Linked DNA regions of Homo sapiens: regions 2, 3 and 4 are each linked to region 1. The links are contacts of gene promoters, found by promoter capture Hi-C in human tissues and cell types (Jung and others, 2019). All regions are on one chromosome and are shown on one strand. The core of a region is centred on a gene start or on the middle of the fragment in contact, and the rest is flanking DNA. Distances in the headings are between cores, read along the strand shown. Region 1 holds the start of MEDAG (mesenteric estrogen dependent adipogenesis). Region 2 has its middle 35 kb from the start of LINC01066. Region 3 has its middle 11 kb from the start of LINC01066. Region 4 overlaps LINC00398 (long intergenic non-protein coding RNA 398).

Region 1 (3,345 bases), core at 218-2,717:
GGCTATCTTATTCATTTCTGAGTCAAACTCTAGACCATGCTTGCCTCTTCAGGCACTTGGCTCTCTCAGCACAAATATAACAGGTCTTTGCACTCCAGGCCCTTGCCAAGAGTGAACTCTGGAGGCCTGAGGCCATGTGGAATCAGGCCTGAAGTGCCCTCCTTTACCCTGTGGCACCAAAGCCTGCTTCAGATGGCTGGGCCACATCCTGCCGGTCTGCCAAGAAGAGCTTGGGGGCACTCTGGCCACAACAGTCAAGCATCCTGGGGGCCTCCTTCCCATTAAGGCCCTCAGGTTTCGCACTTATTTCCCCAGAACTTATCTGTGCCTTCCACAGCCCACATGGCCCCGGGCTGGACTTCCAGGGGCTTTGTTCCCTTCTCAGCTGCGGTTTATTTGTTTACTTTTGAAACACGAAGTGAGGCCAGAGATGGGAAACTTTGAGCTTTTGCATGCTTCTCCACTCGGTCTCCTCACTGGAGAGGGCTGGCAGTGCTCAGAATGGTGCATGCCCCCTGCTCCTCACCGCCACCCATGCTCCAAAGCCAGGATGTGAGTCTTGCAGAGCTGCAGACAGCCCCTAAAGGGTGTGCTCCCAATTTGAGCTCATCTGACCCAGTTAAGGAGCCAGAATGGGAGAAGCATCTGCCACTCATGAGCTCTGGCTGGGGGGCCCCTGCCCTCCCCCTCGCCCCCAGTCCTGATGCCCTTCTGGGCGGCTTCAAGCAGCAGCTGCAAAATGTCAGTGCAAGAGGCAGAAGAACCAGGGCGAGCGTGCAGGCTCCGGGTGATAGAAGCAGAAGGAAAGTCTAGAAGCGCACGGAGCAAGGGGCCACGCGGTGTCGCAGGCAGCGAGGACAGCCCAGGCTCCCAGAGACCGCAGCCGGGTGGAGGCGTCTGCGGGTACCAGGCGACGGGCCAGGGCGCACGGCGAGGCCACCCACCTCTTGATGTAGCTGCTGAGGCGGTAGAGCTGCCCGTCGAGGCGCACGAGGCCGTCACCGAAGACGTTGAAGCCCCCCCGCGCCGCCGCCGGCTCCCCGGGCCTGGCCACCACGAGCTGGTCGCCGCTCAGCTGGAAGGCACCGGGCTGCAGGCGCAGCAGCTGAGCCAGCGGCAGCAGGGCCAGCTCGCAGTCGCAGGTCCACAGGCTGCGAAGCTCCCCAGACGAGATGGAGGTCAGGCTCGGCCTGGCCACCGGCTCGCAGGCCGCCCCCGCCATGCCCGCGTCGTCGGTCCTCACACCGCCTGCTTCCGTCCGGTGCCTACAGCCCCCAGCCGGCACCTGATGGTCCCCAGGAGGGGCCGGGCGCCCTGCCTGCGTCAGCCGCGCGCGAGGTGAGGAGGGGGTCGGTCTGCCCGCCTGGCCGGGACGCGGTGGCCGCTCAGGTGCCAGTCTGACCGCCCGGGCGGCCCCTCCCAAGCTGCCACTCGCTGGGAGCCCTGCAGGCACCGCGCGGAGAAAGCGGCCCCGGCGCAGCGCGGCCCCTTTTATCCGCCCTCTGGACGCCCGCCTCGCCCCTGCCGGCCCACGGCCACGACCCCAGAGGCTCGGGGCAGAGTTATCATCGTCTCATAACTTGGCATGCTCGAGTCTGCTCGCAGGCAAGGCTTAGTCATCCCCCTGGGGTCCACTACTCAACACCAGCGCTGGCCCCCGCCCTGCCTGGCGGACACTGCCGGAGGCTGGAGGTGGGGAGAGTCCTCCCCGGGTTCCCAGGCCCTGCCTATGGTGGGCGGCAGGGCGCACAGCACCCATCCTTGCCTAAGACACCACACCCCTGGTGTTGATTGGAGAAGAAGGCAAGGGCTCTGGCCCTACCCATTCCACCTGGGACCCAGAGGCTGTCAAAGGCCAGTGCTGGAACTCCGATCCCCACCTCAGTACCAGACCTCTCACTCAGCCTCAGTTTTCTGCCATTTTAACTCCATCCAGATCGTACCCTGCATTTCCCTCCTTTCAGCCTTTCCTTCAGCTGGTTGCTGGCCCTGGATCCCTTCCCCCTAGAAATCCCACTGATCATCACATCGCTTTTCCATAAAGCCTTCACGAATCCCACGAGGGTTTCATCGCTTTGCTTCTCCTTTCTACTGCACGGTGAACCCTAGACTGCAATGTGCCGTGTAGTGGGGATAGCAGGGTCCTAGCATCCTCCCTTCTCCCCTGCCTCCCCAGTAGGTGGTGATCTCCTTGAGCCCCAGAATATGTTCATTTCTTCAGTCTATAAATATGTGAGTGCTAGCTATGGGCTCATTGATCTCCTGAGGTATGAAAGGAGAACTATATTATTCCATTTAATTAAACACCTATTTCTGCTGCGGAGAAGCCTGGATGGGATGGGAGGAGAATCTAGCCTAGTTTCGAGGCTTTCTGTAGTACTGTGTTTTAGGATTCTAAGCTACATCCCAAAAGTTGAGTAGAACGTAGAGAATATCCTTAGTTAGTCTTTGTGTGCCCCCACATGAACTCTTGTGTAGGTTTAATCAGATGGGATGAAGAGTCCTCCCGCCACATCTCATTTAAATCTCAGAATATAAATGAGCCCCACTCTCTTCTCTTCTTCTAGGTGCACACCTATCCTTTCTCCAGACATGGATCTTTTACCCATGGGATCATTACCCCATCTCTGGGCCTCTCTGAACAAATCTAATTCACTGAGCATGAATTGATCACTACCCACTCAACCTTTTGTGGCGCAGGAAGGATGCTCTACCTGTGAAAAAAGCATCCAGAAGATCTTCTTGCAAAGGGAGGTTTGAGGATCCCTGCAAAGAGAATGGGTCTGGGGTGGGCTGAGACTGTAGACAGGACTCAGAGGCTGGGGCTGTTTTCACAGGGGAGGGATTTGGTGCCAGCAGTTAAATCCATTGTGCCCTATTTAGAACTTCACTCTTGTCCCAAACATTGACAGAGTCATCACTATGCACCAGGGACCATCTTAAGCTCTGAGGTCACACACACACACACACAAGGATCCAATAAGTGCTACCATAGATGTATGGACTAAGCACTATGAGAAATAAGTGGTTCTGCCCCAAGAAGGGTGCTCAAAGGAGGTGACACATGGCTAGACTTCCAATACACAGGGGAGGCTCCCAGGGGAAGGAGCAGCAGCAATAAGGAGATGGGAGAGAAGATTCTGTACCATTCTATGCAAAGAGAGATGCTATGGTTCCATCTGGGGGAGGGGGGAAATTTTTAAACAGCTAGGGCAGACCATCCTATTTGGGATAAGAGGGGTCAGTTTTATATGAGATGAGACCAGAAAGGGCTGTTGGAGCCAGATTGTGACAGACCCTCTGAGTTGTCAGGAATTTGGATTCTTAAGACAATGAGGAGCCTTG
Region 2 (3,345 bases), core at 411-2,910, 120 kb before region 1:
GCATACCGGTGGTTATCTGGAGATCACCAGAGGGCATGAGTGTAGATGGAGAAGAGAACCAGGATGGAAGCCAAGACGCTCGAAGGATAAGAGGTCAGGGAGAAGGAGAGGAACTAGCAAGGATCAGCTAGATCAAATGATGGTTCTCATGAGAGGAGCTCAGAGAACTGACAGCGGACCTTCAACATGGTGTTGTTGGAGGCCCTGGAAAGAACTGCCTGGCAGAGGGGGCAGGGGAGTGGCGGGAGTAGACAGGGGAGACGGCGTATGGATGATTCTGATCCTTTTAAGAAGTTGTGCTACAAGGAAACGGGACAATGGCTGGCTGAAAAAAGGGAGATAGAGAAGAATTTTGTTTGTTTAATAAGGGAAAAACAACAGCATTTTAATTAGCTAGTGGGAAGGAGGCAGTAGAGAGTGGAAAGGAGGGAAAGTGAAGGGAGATTTGCAAGAGGGCTCCCTTGAGTGGGCGGGAGACGCTGGGATCTGAGATCGAGTGGAGAGATTTGCTGTGGATGCAACGTGGAAAGGCCATCTGGTATAGCCAACCGGAGTCCGTGATCTGGGTGCTGGTAGGCACAGCGGGGGGTGGGGGTGGGGGGTGGGGGAGTGGAAGCCAGTGGACGTTCCTGCTGGATGGTTTTGATGTTCCCAATGAGGTGGGAAATGAGGCCAACAGCTTAGAGGAAGATGAAAGCAGGATTGTTGGGGATTTGGTAAGAAAGGAGGAAAAGCGGAACTATAGACTTGGCATGAGCACACTCAGGAGTGGTAGGTGACTGCCTGGGGGTCTCAAGGGCCCACTGAAGTTTAAAGCACCTCCGTTGCAGGCTTGCATGTGTACTCCAGCTGTACTCATGCCCTCTCTTTACTTCTCTAATCTCCACTCCTCACTCGGCCTTTGAACTCGGTGAGGTCTGGTGCGCACAGCATGCTGAATGAATGTTGGCTAAGTGGAACTGAGGTCTACAGCACTTCAGGAAGGGCCAACAAAAAGGCAAAGGCAGACAGCTGAGGACATCCCCAGGTAGGCCAAAGGGGAAGGGGTGGGGAGTAGTGTCGTTTTTGGGATCCTGTCCTCTCTCCTGGCCCTTCTCTGCTACTGTGGTGGGTATGGTGTTGGAGAGAGGATGAGGGGTAGAAGAAAAAATGGAAGGAATCTTAAAGCTCATCTCACCTAAACTGAACACAGCTCAATGGCCTCATGGGCCACCCAGACCTGGAGTGACCTCTGGCCCCTTGGCCCTCAGCCCTGCACCTCTAGCCAGTAACAAATCCAGCTGACCCAACCTCCTGAAAAGCTCCGGAATTGTTTCCTTCTCTACCCCAGCTGCTGTTTCAGCCTTTCGTGGTTCCTTCAGCATTTCTTATCTGGATCATAATAACAATTGTTACTATTTACTGAGCACTTACTGTATGCCAGTCACTAGCTAATGGGCTTTTATGTTTGTTCATTCATTGAGTCCTCAAAAGAAACCCCTCATTTTGCAGATGAGGAACCTCAGGCCCCTGAATGTCTGCAATACTCTCCCTATCAGTCTGTCTGTCTCCCGTCTAATCCATCCCCCAATCCCCACCAGCGTGAGCATCCTTAGACATCTATTTAGAATCTGCACAGTGTTTAGGCTGCAGAACAAAGTCCTTGGCAGGGGCATAGATGACTTTTCATTAGCAAACTCTGACTGTCTTTTCTGATCTCCTCATGTTTCTTTCCTTCAAAGGGGCCCTTTACTCCAAAATAAGTCAGCTTCTCCAAAGAATTCAATGCCTCCCAGCCCCCTTCCAGCCCTATGCCCGCTGCTACCCACCATGCTTATTTGGCTCCTATGAATTGAAATGTCCTTTCTGTCCCTCAGCCTGCCTCCCTATTGTCCTGTAGCCCCACCGTGACTGCCCTGGGAGGGCTTTGCTGACATCCCCCATCGCTCCCCCAGTCTGAAGTGGTGTGCCCCCTCTCTGGGTGCCCTCACACCCACTGCAAATCTCTACCCAGCTCCGAGTCCCCACATGCCAAGGTGGGTTGGCTTGTCTGCCTCCCTCAGGTGGACATCCTGAGAAAGCAGTGTTTTAAAAATCTATTTTAGAGCTCATTTCATAGCCAAGTAGGACTCAAGATACAAACATCCTTTTGACACAGAACAGAAGAGAAATGTGTCTAATTTAGAAGTGAAGCCAGTGTCTATTTGGTTTCTCACGCATATGTTTTTTAAGAAAATGCTCTAAAATTTTAAGTTTTTACTGCAACAAATCCTCTGGATTAGGTTGATGTCATGTCCCCTAGGAAAGTAAATATTTTTTTCTGTTGTTGTTAGTTTATTTTATATTCAAATAGGGCAATGTCTTGCCCTGGTTAGCAGACAAATTAGCAGTAGGTCAGGCTGGGATAAAAAATTACTTATTTTTTAATGTATTTATTTGTTATTCAAAAAGTAGTTGTTGAATGCCTTCTTATGATCCAAGAGCTCTATTAGGCAGGTACATTTATCACTTATCAAAAACACTCTTGCCTTTTTGTTTATTTTTTATCAAAAATTTTTAAGGCTGAGGCATGCCTTGGAGTCTGCAGCACTGTGAAAGCAACAAAATAGGAGTTGTATTGTATTTGAAATCATATATTAAAGGTAATGATAGAGTGAGCGCCACACGTGGTAATTAGTTTACAATGTGCTCCTACAAATGCACTCAGACACCATGATTAGTGCTCCCTGGAGCCTTCAGCCCATGAAACTAGCGATCATGGTTCTCACCAGAACTCGACTCTCCCAGGGTATTATGATAAATACCAAGTTGGTTCTAATATTACTCTAAGTGTTTAGGCCTGGGTGTGAGAAGGGATGGCGAGATGAAATGGAGATAAAACACAAAGCTTATGCTTTGGTTGCTTAGCCAGAAATAGGTAAGGAATGAGCCAGTCACCCTTCAGTGAGGTTTTAGGGTGACATAGGGACAACCCCCCCCCCACCAGCCCCTTCCTGCACATATATGTGCCCAGCCTGTGGGAGTTATAATGGGTTATAAGTGCTGTTTCAAACTGATTTTCTATTGGGTGTGTCTACAAGCTTAACAAGAAAGAAAGAGAAAGAAAGAGAAAAAAAGAAAGAAAGAGAAAAAAAAAGAAAGAAAGAGAAAGGAAGGAAGGAAAGAAACAGAGAGAGAGAGAAGTCTAGTCTCCACTTCACAGGAGCAGAGAAGCATCCTGAGCCTCACTCCTAGTTTCCTGGGACAGCCCTCTGACAGATGCCAGGCCGCAGATGCGGGGCTGTCAGAGAATGACATCATCAGCCGACAGTGCCATTGGCTGAGGAGGCTAGTGTGTAGACAGTACTATTGGCTCCATCCCAGACG
Region 3 (3,345 bases), core at 285-2,784, 100 kb before region 1:
CTGAGAAAACCAGTGAGTACTCTTGTGTGCCACTGAGGTTTTGTGGTAATGTGTTATGCAGCATGACTCTGGCAATCCATAACTGATACACTGTCTATTAACTTACATTCTAGTTGGTTCTACCACAGGCACATAGCCTGAAGCATCACCTCTTCCTATGGTATGTGTTGTAAATCATGACTTACAAATTTTCTCTTATATCATAATCCTCAGTAAGAATCTGTTAAACATATATATGCACACATGCTATTGATTATATACACACACTCACATATACACCATATTTTGTGAAACACTATTGACCTTTAATTTGTGTAAAGTGCTCTTATTTTTTTCTATTCTATTTCCTTTTCTCTACGCCTAAGTTGTGTCTACTATACACTAAGCTGATGTCATGACTCACTAGGGGGCAGAGAGCTGCAGTTTGAAAACCACATCACGCTTTGCCACAAGACTTTCTTATGTTAGCAATTCAACAGGTATTTTCTGTGCTCTTGGTACCCTTCTCAGTAATGGGCACAAATAAGCACTCAACAAATGTTTGTTGAATTCAACTGAATTGAGAGAAGTTTACAGTTATGAACTTCCTGGGTTTGTGTCCCTAATCCCTACATTTGAGATCTAACTTTATTTCCCAAGATTTCAGAGATATGACAATGACGGTACCCTTCTGGGAGTGCTGTATGAGTCATTCTTCACAGTTCTAGCAAATTGAAGAATGATTTCCAACACTGGCCCTACTGGTGGTCTGTCTGCCCACTCTTAGTGCACCTGCCTGCAGAAGCAAGAATGCAGTCCTGCATCTGCCCCGCCTGACCGTGTGAGGGTGGGAAGACGGAGGCCAAGTGCCGTATCATATCACTCATTGCTTCTCTTATGTCAGGCTGGTGTCTGGCACACAGTAGGTGCTTAGAAAACACCTGTTGAATTGAACTGAAGTGACATCAGGCCTCCAGGTCTGTTTCTTTATCTTTAATGGAAGGAAATTCGACCAGGTTCTTTCCAGCTTTAAAAATCTAATTCTAAGTAGTGTCAACTAAATCTGACTGTCTGCCGAGGTGGAATAAACAGCTACTACATGCTGTGCTCCAGCTGTGTCAGGAAAGGCCCCTCCCCTTACAGACACGCTGCCCACTGATGTGCCGGGCAGGCCAACTGGAGCAGCACAGCTTGGCATTAAGGTGTTCAGCCTTGTCGAAATACAAAAACGTCTGCAAAGGTACGTGCAAGCTATTATCAGTCTTTTACACCAGATTGAGAAAACAACTTCCAGAACTTTGCCTGGGAGCAGACCTTGAGAGAGGGAACAGTACTATATGAAGGAGTTGACCTGCGGTGCTAGGGGAACAAGCTTGGGGTCCTCAGAGATGAAAGGAGTGTGGCGACACTGAAGGTGAACTCGTACCGGCTCACAAATGGCCCAGTTCAGCCACTTGCTGTCTTCCCTGAGCTCTTTCCCAGTGTCTCTCAGCAAAGAAGTGAGAAGTGAAACTCAGAAACTCTTCATCTCCTCTATCCAAAGCCAATATTTTGCTCTATGAGCAATGCTGGCTCTTGCATGTTCTAAGGCAAATTAAAAATAGCTGCTGTGTGCTTATTTTCCTGCAGCGAATTTAAATGTGTGCCACTGAGGCCATCACTTTTTACTTTGAAGAGGCATCATCCCACGTCCTCCCACACAGACTGGATCCTGCACCAGCTCACACACACCTCACGCTGGGAGCTTCAGATCCTGTCACTATTCCAAGCTGGCAATGGGGAGCCTCGGGCCTCAGAGACACCCCACCAAACATAGTCCAGTCACAAGCAATATGGCTTGGGTAACTGCAGTCCCCAGACTGGCTAACCCAATTAGCAAAGGATGGAAACCAGGTGGAGTTATTTCCATATCTTGGCTATTGTCAACAGTGCTGCTACGAACATGGGTGTGCAGACATCTCTTTGAGATCCTGATTTCAGTTCTTTTGGGTATACGTTCAGAAGTCGGATTGCTGGATCATATGGTAGTTCTATTTTTAATTGTTTGAGGAACCTCTATAAAGTTTCAGTTATGCAAGATGAATTAGTTCTAGGGATCTGCTGTATAGCATTGCACCTATAGCCAACGATACTACCAAAGTCATCAATACTGAATGCACTTACAATTTTGTTAATAGGGTATATCTCATAGTAAGTGCTCTTAACACACACACACACACACACACACACACACACACACACACACGGCATAGGGAAAGTTTTGGAGGTAGTGGATATGTTTATTACTTTTTTTGTGATGATGGTTTCATGGGTGTATGCATATGTCCAAATTCATCAAATTGTATACATTCAATATGCACAGTTTATTATGTATCTAGTTGATAAATAAGGCTAGTTGATAAATAAATAGCAATAAAAAAGCTCAATATTGTATTGTATCTAGTTGATAAATAAAGTGCAAAAAAAAAAAAACCCAAAAAAACAAAAAACCCAGGTTGGCCTCAGTTAAAAACTCACTCTCAGCCATGAAGTATGCCCCATAAAGCTCTGTCATCCTCTGACAGCTGCCAAAACTTCCTACATTATCCCAGCAGACTGAAAAAAGACTTGCTGGGAATGGGAAGGTTGAAGTGGAGCCAACACAGATGACTTCTGTGTGCCCCAACTTGAGAGGGGACCAGCAATAGATTCCTCCTGAGGCTCCACCATGCTTGAAAGTGCATCACACACAGGGTAACGGGTTTCAGACTTCCTTGACTGTGACCATTTCACAGGACTCAAATGACTCCATCTTCACTTGGAAACAAAAGTTTCGCACTGCTTATGCTTATGCTGGAAGCTGCACTTTGACAGTAACTGTTGGTCAGTATTTTAGATGCCAGTCATATTCCAGTAAATCAATTTTCTGACCCATTGATCTCACCCACAGTATGAAGATCCCTGCCTTCAGGAAAGCCTCTTTTGTTATATTATTTGCACAGGTCACTAAGGGAAAAGGAAAAAACCCCAGTTCTTAACTCCTTATGATCCATTTCCACCTTACCGTTCAACATTAGTTTTATTTCTGCTGTCCATCAAGGCCCATCTCAAATGCTACCTCCTCCAAGAAGCCTTCCGTGTTCCCAAAGCCGCAAGTAATTTCCCCCTCTCAGTTTCCCTGTTAGGATTACATGTCGTTTGGATACAGTCTTCCTCTCCCATTGAGTTCCTGCTTCCTAGAAATTAGCCATGAGTCCATCATCTGCACAGATTTTGCCATTTCGGTGTCATTTACTGAATATTCTTCTTCAAGTAGCCTCACTTATTTTACATACTACCTTCTTTAGCCTCACTCTAAACAAAAGTAATCTTGAAATAATGGATTTC
Region 4 (3,345 bases), core at 287-2,786, 98 kb after region 1:
CTGCCACTCGCTCTCCCACTCCTGGTCTCTACCCTGCCTCTGCCTGTAGCCTGCACTTTCTCTTCCCTTAGTCCCCTGCTCCCCATTAAAGTCAATCTCCCTTGGTTGTGCTATCTCAAGCCTTAGTCTGACTCCTTCATAGCCCCTGATCCAACTTACAGTTGTTTCACTTACTGTTTCATTCATTCATTTTTGTCTCTATCTCCACAACTAGATTATAATTTCTTTCAGGACAGGTACCATGTAAAATTTATTTTCCACAGTATATCCAGCATCTAGCACAGTGCCTGGCACACAGTAGGTGTTCGCTACATGCTTATTGAATGAATGAGGCTGGGTGCAGTGGCTTACGCCTGTAATCCCAGCACTTTGGGAGGCTGAAACGGGTGGATCACCTGAAGTCAGAAGTTTGAGACCAGACTGGCCAACATGGGGAAATGTCTTCTCTACTAAAAATACAAAAATTAGCCGGGCTTGGTGGCATGTGCCTGTAATCCCAGCTACTAGGGAGGCTGAGGCAAGAGAATCGCTTGAACCCAGGAGGCAAAGGTTGCAGTGAGCTGACATCATGCCACTGCGCTCCAGCCTGGGCGACAGAGCAAGACTCTGTCTCAAAAAAAAGAATGAATGAATAACTGATTCAGGACTCACTATGTTAAAGTTTATTTTCTTATTCTCAGCTCCCTCTATAGATTGGCTAAGTGATGTTCTCAGGGCTTGGCTGGTCAGTAAACACATTTTTCAAGGCCCTTCATTTCTCCTCCCCCCTTTTGTTCCCAGTCTTCTGGTCATTTTGATATTCATTAACAACCCTTAACATACAGTAGGCAGAAGGAGTAATTTGCTTCTCATTAACTGGCTAAACTATCATTTGGGAATTACTTATTATTTCAATTATCCATGAGATTTCTGTCCACTTGGAGCAGGCAGTTGCATCAGTCAGAATAGGCCAATTGCTGGAATCTATAACCCCCACACCTCAGAAGCTTAAATTAAGCCACTGAAAGTTTATTTCTCACTCATGCAAAGTTCAATATGAATATTTTAGGTCATGCAGTTTTCCTTGGAGGGATGACTCAAGGGCCCTCCCATCATGTGACATTTCCATGTTCGACACCCAAGATGTCAAAGCATCAAAAAATGAAAAACATGATTAATACCTTTTCTCCAGCTAATCAAGCTAGTTAATGCAGTTCAGTAGATGACAGTCCCATCTAGTGGCAAAAGGCACGTTTGGAGATGATAACTTGCCTTTGGTCACTTGTGTCAATCCCCTCTCCCACCCCCAGGCTCCATCACCCCAACACACAGTCCATCAGCAAGTCCAACTGGCTTCATCTCCAAACCATCCCACACCTACTTCATGGACTCTGCTACCCCCAGACCAAGCTCCTGCCATGTGTTGCCTGAACTATTGCAAAATCCTTCTAGCTGAATGTCCTCCTCCCACCCATCCTTCCATGATCTGTTCTCCACAGAGCAGCCAAAGAGAGTGTTCGGCTATTATTTTATTTTGTTTGTGTGCCGTTTAAAGGGTTCTGTTTCCATTTTTTCCTTTGCTGTATAAAAAGTTACTTTGAAGCCAGTCATGGTGGATCACGCCTGTAATCTCAGCACTTTGGGAAGCTGCGGAAGGAGGATCGCTTGAGGTCAGGAGTTCAAAACCAGCCTGGCCTACATGGTGAAATCCCATCTCTACTAAAAATACAAAAAACAAAAATTAGCCAGGTGTGGTGGTGCGTGCCTGTAATCCCAGCTACTTGGGAGGCTGAGGCAGGCGTATTCCTTGAACCTGGGAGGTGGAGATTGCAGTGAGTTGAGATCGCACCACTGCACTCCAGTCTGGGCAATAGAGCAAGACTCAATCTCAAAAAAAAAAAAAAAAAAAAAAAAAAGAGTTATTTTGAAACTTTTGTTCTAAGAATTTTCAAGCATACACAAAATATACCCAGATACCCAACTGTAATACTTATCAACTCATGGCCAGTCTCGTTTCAGCTACACCCCTCCTCACTGTTCCATTTTCTGTGTACTGTTTTGCAGCAACTCCTTGACAGCAAAGGAGCTCTATAAACCACAAATCAGAGCAAGTTACTTCCTAGCTTAAAAACTTTTAAAAGCTCTGCAGGGCATTTACAATGAAACCTTTCGGCTCATTCTGGCACCCAGAGCCCCGCCTTACTTGGCCTGCTAATCTCTTTAATGGTATTTCCTCACTCTGCCCCAGCCACAGCCACCCTCTATTCCTTGGGCTCACTCAGTTGTATCCCTACCCCAGTGCCTTTGCACTTGCTGCACTGCTGCCTAAACTACTTTACTACTCTACATTTATGTGGCTGGCCCTGCCTGGGCATTCACGGCTCAACTCTCATCTGCTCTGAAAGGCCTCCCCAGCGAGTCTGTCTCTGGAAACACCCCCAGCCCCACTCCTCTAGCCAGCCACTTTCCACCTTAACACTCTGAAACTAGTTTGCTCCTTTAAAAGATGTGTTTGTTCTAGCTAGGTGCAGTGGTGCACACCTGTGTTCGCAGCTACTTAGGAGGCTGAGGCAGGAGGATCACTTGAGCCCAGGAATTCAAGTCCAGCCTGGACAATATAGTGAGACCTCAGCTCTCAGGAAAAGAAAAAAAAAGTGCTTGTTCTAAAATCAAAGGTCCAGAAAAGCAACTAGACTAGTGCATGGCATATGATAAGCACTTAATATTTATTGAGTAAAAACAAACAAGAATACAATTTTAAAGTGTTAGCTTTAGGGCAGTTTTTGAAAATAAATTTTCCTGGTGCATTTATAACAGCATTTGTTAGAAAAAAATATATTTATACAAATTTATTTTTTGAGAGAAAAAATACCACTTGTAGTGCAAAGGCATGTTCTTCCGTGAAAGATCATACATGACTCAGGCTCTGATTCTGCCAAGAGGAAAAGGAAGTCAGGACAACGTGACTATTTTTAGTCCTTAGAAGTAGCCATGCCTCCAGCTAAGATGTGAATGGAGGAATCTGTGGCTTATAAAGTTGATTTGGATGATGAGACCATACTCTGAAGACAAACTCTTAATACCGTGCCATGACAGAAAAACATTAAGGAGACAAGATTCATGAATTCTGAAATGAGAAGTGGAAGTTTAAAAATATATATATATATATATATATTTTGAGATGGAGTCTCACTCTGCGGCCCAGGCTGAATTGTAGTGGTGCCATCTGGCTCACCACAACCTCCGCCTCCCGGATTCAAGCTATTCTCCTGCCTCAGCCTCCCGAGTAGTTAGAATTACAGGCTCGATCCACCATGCCCAGCTAGTTTTTGTATTTTTGGAAGAGACAGAGTTTCACCATGTTGG

The links. The method cuts DNA at HindIII sites, captures the fragments that hold promoters and counts their contacts. A contact is called where the count stands out against the background at its distance.
Region 2: a fragment that was not itself captured here is called in contact with the fragment with the promoter of MEDAG in region 1 in 3 of the 25 tissues and cell types used here (H1 embryonic stem cells, dorsolateral prefrontal cortex and mesenchymal stem cells).
Region 3: a fragment that was not itself captured here is called in contact with the fragment with the promoter of MEDAG in region 1 in 2 of the 25 tissues and cell types used here (aorta and dorsolateral prefrontal cortex).
Region 4: a fragment that was not itself captured here is called in contact with the fragment with the promoter of MEDAG in region 1 in 3 of the 25 tissues and cell types used here (IMR-90 fibroblasts, aorta and dorsolateral prefrontal cortex).

What each region holds. Positions count from the first base shown.
Region 1 is chr13:30,904,393-30,907,737 of GRCh38, reverse strand. It overlaps MEDAG (mesenteric estrogen dependent adipogenesis), which reads right to left and starts at 1,467. Exons shown (of 5, transcript NM_032849.4): 1 at 945-1,467. The coding sequence starts at 1,222. All of the region lies in intron 2 of TEX26-AS1 (TEX26 antisense RNA 1), which reads left to right. RefSeq lists an enhancer at 365-866. The HindIII fragment of the contact is 12,319 bases long and covers 1-3,345 here.
Region 2 is chr13:31,029,264-31,032,608 of GRCh38, reverse strand. No RefSeq gene overlaps it. Among named protein-coding and RNA genes, the nearest start is that of LINC01066, 35 kb to the right of the region's middle. The HindIII fragment of the contact is 6,324 bases long and covers 1-3,345 here.
Region 3 is chr13:31,005,980-31,009,324 of GRCh38, reverse strand. No RefSeq gene overlaps it. Among named protein-coding and RNA genes, the nearest start is that of LINC01066, 11 kb to the right of the region's middle. The HindIII fragment of the contact is 4,413 bases long and covers 1-3,345 here.
Region 4 is chr13:30,806,564-30,809,908 of GRCh38, reverse strand. The region is part of intron 1 of LINC00398 (long intergenic non-protein coding RNA 398); the gene reads right to left. Among named protein-coding and RNA genes, the nearest start is that of LINC00398, 5.0 kb to the right of the region's middle. The HindIII fragment of the contact is 6,903 bases long and covers 1-3,345 here.